2 separate regions of the Homo sapiens genome follow, and region 2 is linked to region 1. Evidence: promoter capture Hi-C in 16 types of primary human blood cells and fetal thymus (Javierre and others, 2016). All regions are on one chromosome and are shown on one strand. The core of a region is centred on a gene start or on the middle of the fragment in contact, and the rest is flanking DNA. Distances in the headings are between cores, read along the strand shown. Region 1 holds the start of RIT1 (Ras like without CAAX 1). Region 2 overlaps ASH1L (ASH1 like histone lysine methyltransferase).

The links. The method cuts DNA at HindIII sites, captures the fragments that hold promoters and counts their contacts. A CHiCAGO score of 5 or more calls a contact.
Region 2: a fragment that was not itself captured here is called in contact with the fragment with the promoter of RIT1 in region 1 in 2 of 17 cell types (megakaryocytes and M2 macrophages); the score reaches 6.4 in megakaryocytes.

Annotation. Positions count from the first base shown.
Region 1 is chr1:155,909,654-155,912,804 of GRCh38, reverse strand. RIT1 (Ras like without CAAX 1) reads left to right here and starts at 1,456. Exons shown (of 6, transcript NM_006912.6): 1 at 1,456-1,562; 2 at 2,001-2,149; 3 at 2,299-2,355. The coding sequence starts at 2,044. The HindIII fragment of the contact is 5,298 bases long and covers 1-3,151 here.
Region 2 is chr1:155,334,632-155,337,833 of GRCh38, reverse strand. ASH1L (ASH1 like histone lysine methyltransferase) reads left to right here. Exons shown (of 28, transcript NM_018489.3): 28 at 83-2,566. The coding sequence ends at 174. Among named protein-coding and RNA genes, the nearest start is that of MIR555, 10 kb to the left of the region's middle. The HindIII fragment of the contact is 1,183 bases long and covers 1,333-2,515 here.

The DNA.
Region 1 (3,151 bases), core at 207-2,706:
AACAGCGTATTAAAAGGACTTCATGAATGAAGCGGGTTTTAAAGGAAATATGTTATTCTTGGAAAGACATTTTATTTTTTTTTGAGATGGAGTCTCGCTCTGTCACCCAGGCTGGAGTGGAATGGTGCAATCCTGGCTCACCGCAACCTCCTGGGTTCAAGTGGTTCTCCAGCCTCAGCCTCCTGAGTAGCTGGGATTATAGGCACCTACCACCATGCCCAACTAATTTTTATATTTTTAGTAGAGACAGGGAGTCACCATTTTGGCCAGGCTGGTCTTGAACTCCTGATCCTCAAGTGATCAGCCCACTTCAGCCTCCCAAAGTCCTGGGATTACAGGCGTGAGCCAGCACTCCTGGCCAGAAAGACTTAAATTTTGAGACGGAGTTTTGCTCTGTTGCCAGGCTGGAGTGCAGTGGCACCCTCTCAGCCAGCTAACTGCAACCTCCACCTCCCAGGTTCAAGTGATTCTCCTGCCTCAGCCTCCCGAGTAGCTGGGACTTATAGGCGCATGCCACCACACCCAGCTAATTCTTTTGTATTTTTAGTAGAGACGGTTTTACATGTTGGCCAGGATGGTCTCTTATTTCTTGACCTCATGACTCACCTGCCTCGGCCTCCCAGAGTGCTGGGATTACAGGTGTGAGCCACCGCGCCCGCCCGGCCCAGAAAGACATTTAAAAAGAACAGTGGTAGGCAGAGCTGCATGAGAACAATTTTCGTGTCAGTTTCTTCTAGCACCTGTGCTACGTAAATAGAGGGGAATATGGTTATAGTGGCTGCGCTTCAGTTCTGTATTTAACTCAAGGCCTCTGTTAACTCAGAGCTCTCTTTCCTGCCAGAGTGTGGTACATTTATTTAAAACAAGTTTTTGTGTGTCTTATACGTGTTTAAAATACATACAGAACTCTGATTAGGGAGTGTTGTGAACATCTGGTTTCTGAGAATGAATTTAGGTTTCAATAGCAAAAGTCATTGTGGCCGCTCCTTTAGGAAAGTCATTTTTCTCCTATGAGTAGTCATCCCCGGTAGACTTGACTGAAATCCTGTGTTTTAGGAGGATTTGGGGGGTGCCCCTGTCCTCCCTTCCTCTCATTACATTGGGTCAAATTAGTTTTGGGTTTTTTTTTTTCCCACAAGCAGCAAACAACCCTCGGTAAGTTGTTAATTTAAGTGTCCCTGCATGTCTCTTATCACGTACTCCCTTCCCTTTTGTGTAAATAATTTACTTTCTACTCGTGATTAAATACCCTTGTCTGTGAGTGCATACACCCTAGGTTGGGTAGGTGACCAGAGGACCTTCAGCGGTGGGTCCCGGAACTGGGTTTTAGGGACCTGGGAGGGGCGGGAAGAGGGCGGGGCAGGCTGTGGGCGTCACTGAGTGGCCCCGCCCCTCCTTCCGCGACTCGGGCGCCGGTGGCGCCATCTTACTCGGTTGCGGGAGGGGTCACAGGTCAGTGCCGGAGCCTCCGCGAGTGAAGGAAGACGAAGTGCGTGACCCGACCGGCTGTGGTGTTCCAGTCCCCACTGACCAGTAGGAGCAGCAGGGCGTCGGCTTGTGAGGTAGAGGGGTGGGGAGTCTGGCGGCGGAGCAGCAGCTGGGGGTGGGGAGGGGGTTCGGAGGAGAATGGGGAGGGGGCGGAACCTCTGGGTACCGCAGACGTGAGAGAACCCCTGCGGCCTAAGGGGCCGCATCCCTTTCTTCCCAAAACTTTCTCCTTGTCCCTACTGTGCCGAGACGTAAATTTATTTGTATCTTTTTATTTTTCTCTTTGGAAAAAGTAAAACCTGTGATGTGTCATGTGACTGAACTGTCTAGGAGGGAGGGTGAAGATGGGGGGGTTTCTTAGGGCCACCCGAAAGGGTGCAGTGGTGAGCAAGAGGGACAGGCCAGAGTAAGAGGGACAGGCCAGAATATGTATGGAAAGGTAAGGCACTGGCTTGAGGGCTGTCGCCGTGGTGTCTCCATCCTGGATTAAGCATTTCCTCCTCCTTTTCTAGGTGGCTTTTCCTCGGGGCAACCGAGGAAGGCCCCAAGAGGACAATGGATTCTGGAACTCGCCCAGTTGGTAGCTGCTGTAGCAGCCCCGCTGGGCTCTCACGGGAGTACAAACTAGTGATGCTGGGTGCTGGTGGTGTAGGGAAGAGTGGTAGGTAACATTTTCCATTTGACAGGAAGCATGGATGAAAAGTACTTAAATGACCAGATGGGATACTTGCTATCTTGCAATGTTAATACTTAAAATTCTCTCTGTGGGTCACCTTTGTGAGGATTTGACTTTTATTTCTTCTTTTGAAGCCATGACCATGCAGTTCATCAGCCACCGATTCCCAGAAGATCATGATCCCACCATTGGTAAGCCAGATCATCACTTATGTTTCCAAATATACCCCATAAAAATATCTTAATGAATATCAGTAGTTTCTAACTATTTATATTTTGAGGCTTTTTTGGAGTCTAATTCAGATTTATTTAGAAACAAGGGTATCAGCAGTTGGTAAGCAACTGAATATTTCTTTTTTTTTCAGACTTTATGTCATAAGCCATCTTTAGTCTTTGTCTCTTACTGAACATTAATGGGACAACTCTCTTTGTTGTATTTTTTTATGGTTGTATACAGGCCACTTAACGAAGCCTTTTCTTGCTGTCACTTCTCTAAGGGTATGACTTGAGACTCGCTCTGTAACTGTGAGTCAGCTGGTTTGAACTTCCACAAAAGGAAGCAGAGAAACAAGTAGAGCCAGGCTGCTGAACTCTTACAACCCAGACATGCCAAGCCTGGACATCTTGCACTTGGAGCTCTTGGTTTACTTCCTTATACCTTAAGTTCATTACGTAGTAATGTCTTCTCCCATGTCTGTCTGTTGTTTTTTTTTTTTTTTTGAGATGGAGTCTCGCACTGTCTCCCAGGCTGGAGGGCAATGGTGCGATCTCCGGTCACTGTAACCTCCGCCTCCCGGGTTCAAGCAATTCTCCTGCCTCAGCCTCCTGAGTAGCTGGGATTACAGGCATCTGCCACCACACCCGGCTAATTTTTGTATTTTTAGTAGAGATGGGATTTCACTATGTTGGCCAGGCTGGTCTCAAACTCCTGACCTCAAGTAATCCATCCACCTCAGCCTCGAAAAGTACTGGGATTACAGGCGTGAGC
Region 2 (3,202 bases), core at 675-3,174, 580 kb after region 1:
CGTGTGCTCTCCTTAGAGCTCAAATCTGGAATAAGGAGTAGGAGATTGGTATTTTGATGAGCCTCCTTGGTTCTGTTTTCAGCCATTGATGTGACCTACTTGCTGGAGGAAGGATCAGGCAGGAAACTGCGAAGGCGTACTTTGTTTATCCCAGAAAACAGCTTTCGAAAGTGACCCTCAAAGAATGAGAACCTCAAGCATCTGGGATCCAGTGGAGCTAATCAGTCCTGCCTCCTGCTCTCTGGGTATAGACAGGGGTGGGAAGGGTCCATCTGGGCAAGGGGAATGGGGCCATGTTGTTGACATTAGGTACTTAATAAGCCTTGGAGCTAGTGGAGAGGGAGAGGAAAGGGTTCTGTCCAAGACAGTTCAGGTTAATTAATTTTCTTCTCCATTGCTTCACCTTAAGGGTTAATAATGTAGAGAGGAGGGAGGACCACATTGATGACCAGAACCTACTGGTACTTTATAGCATTTGCCCCACCCCACAGCTTAGGTTTTTCTGTCATCCTCAGATCCCACAGGCATTGCGAAGAAGCTGCTTCCTATACCCAGGTATAACTCAAAATCCAAAGGGATAGGGCCAGGATCCCTATTCCTACCCCATCTATTCTCTGTTGGCTCCAAGAGCTACCCCAGAGACCTTAAACAGAAACAGTAGCTGAGGCTTCTTCCTAGATACCTGACTAGGGAAGTTTGTCTCTCCTTTCTTGCCCAACCAGGTCAAAGTAAAATGTGAGTTGACAGCTCAAAGCACTTGTAACTGCTGCCCCCTCCCTACCTCTACTCCCCAAAATGGAATCATGGGATAGGGAAGGCCCCCATGGGGTCAGAAGGGCACGGTAGTTCTTGCAATTATTTTTGTTTTACCCTTCATAACCTGTCAAACATATTTTTTTCTAATGAGAAAGCCAGGCCCCCGCCAGCACACATGCTGTTTTTAATGCGCTGTAGTTCTTGTGTGTCTGCTGTGCTGTGCAAATGGAGATTCAGTTCAAAATAAAATCATTTAAAAACCTACATAAAAAGAACTCTAAACCCACCCCTGCAACAAAAGTCACTACATAAACTGTTCAGCAGTATTCACCTATCAGAGTATTTGTTGTGAGTATAGATTATCAATTGAAAACACTACTCTTGTTTTCTTAATTGTACAGTTTTCAATGTCCCTTTCTTAAAGAGACAGTATATTTCTCTTCACCCCTAGCCCATCTTCCCTCACCCTCCTGAATGACATCAGGAGGTATATCCAGGGTGTCTCCTTCCTTCCTACTCTCTTGACCAGAAGTTAACAGACTATACTGTCTCTTTAAAAATAAAATTTAAAAAGCTTTGTTGTCTTTTCAGACATACATATGCATATATGTTTTAGATGTTCTTATAAGAGAAAAGATGGTTTTTAAATGTGCCAAGTTGTGTGTGTGTGTGTATATATATGTGTGTATGTGTGTGTATATATATATGTGTGTGTGTATATATATACACACACACACACACACCTGCTGTGTGATTGGTAAGCAATACAATAGTAAACATGTCCCCATTACTTTTTTCTAATATTGGACCAATGCTGTCCTAATTGTACATTTCCCCTTATGGTGACGATGCTCTGACTCGTTTAGGTAGACACATTGACCACCTTCCATTCCATTAAATATTTTTTCCTTTTTCCCCTTTCTGTGTCATTCTTGAGGAAAAAACAAAAGAGAGAGGGGATGCCAATGATCCCCTTGAGCAGAGAAAAAGCAAAATAAATATTTTATTAAAGAAAAAAGAGAATTAAGAAAATAGTTTGGAGTATTTTCTTACTGTAGAGAAGCACTGTACATTACTAAGAGACCTGGGTATAAGATACTCACATGTGGAGCTGGAAAAATCGCATGTCCAAGCCCGTTTGAGTGGTTTCTTTTGTTTTTCATTGCAGGGAGTGGGTGGGAGGGAGGTGGGACTAGGGGCACTTTGGGGGTCTCCTTTTAGTCAAAAGCGAGAAAATGACAAGAAAGAGATTAAAATTCAATGTTTCCTTTATAGTGTTAAACACTAAAATTTTAAAAAAGATGAAAAAGAAAAAAAAACTTTGTAAAATGCGAGAACAGAAGCAAAAGACACTACGCTCTGTCATTTTATCTTTCTTTTGTTGAAAGACTAAAAAAAAACTGAAATGTTTTTTAGACAATCAAATGTTAGGTAAGTGCAAAAACTTGTTTTTTCTTACTGGTGTAGAAATTAATGCCTTTTTTTATTTTTCAGTTATTTTATAATAACGAAATAAAAAGAACCCCCCAGCTGCCAGGCGGGTTTTGGTGTTTGAAATGCGGGGCAAAGCACTACATCACTGCAAATAGATACAGAGTTAGTCTGCATGTCTGTAGGCTGTGTGATTGCGGAAAATATAAATGCTGCTAATATATTTCCTTTTTACAAAAGCATATCTAAATAGATGATTGTTTTGATGTTAATCTTTGTAAATTATGTATTACCAATTTTAACATTGGATGTAATTGCATACAAAGCTTGCATCTCAATCCTTGAAAGTCTAGTATTAAATGGAAAAAACTTTTCCTAACTGTGGACTGATGAGCTTGCTATTTTTTCCTCCTTCTTATCCCCCATTTATCTTCCAAGACAACCTCATCCTGTTTCCAAGGGGATCTTTCTGAAACAACATCATAAACATGCTAGGCTGCACATGAGCACACTCACTGCCGTTGACTACTGGATAAAGTCATTTCTTCAGTACTAGGATCTTTCTAGTCTGGACTCAGCCTAATCAATCAGCACAGTAATAACACACACCAAATGTCCAGTTGCTTTTTTGTTTTTTGTGTTTGAGACAGAGTCTCCCTGTTACCCAAACTGGAGTGCAATGGCACAATCTCGGCTCACTGCAACCTCCACATCCCAGACTCAAATGATCCTTCTGCCTCAGCCTCCCAAATAGCTGGAACTACAGGCATGCACCACCATGCCTGGCCAATTCTTGCACTTTTTGTGCAGACGGAGTTTCACCGTGTTGCCTAACGTAGTCCAGCTGTTTTGTTGGGTTTTTTTTAATTTTTTTGTTTTTGAGACAAGGCATCACTGTGTTGCCCAGGCCAGAGTGCAGTGGCACATTATAGCTCACTGCAACCTCAACCTCCTGGGCTCAAGCAATCCTCCCAACTCAGCCTCCTGAGTTGCTAGGACTACAGGGGCGCACCAC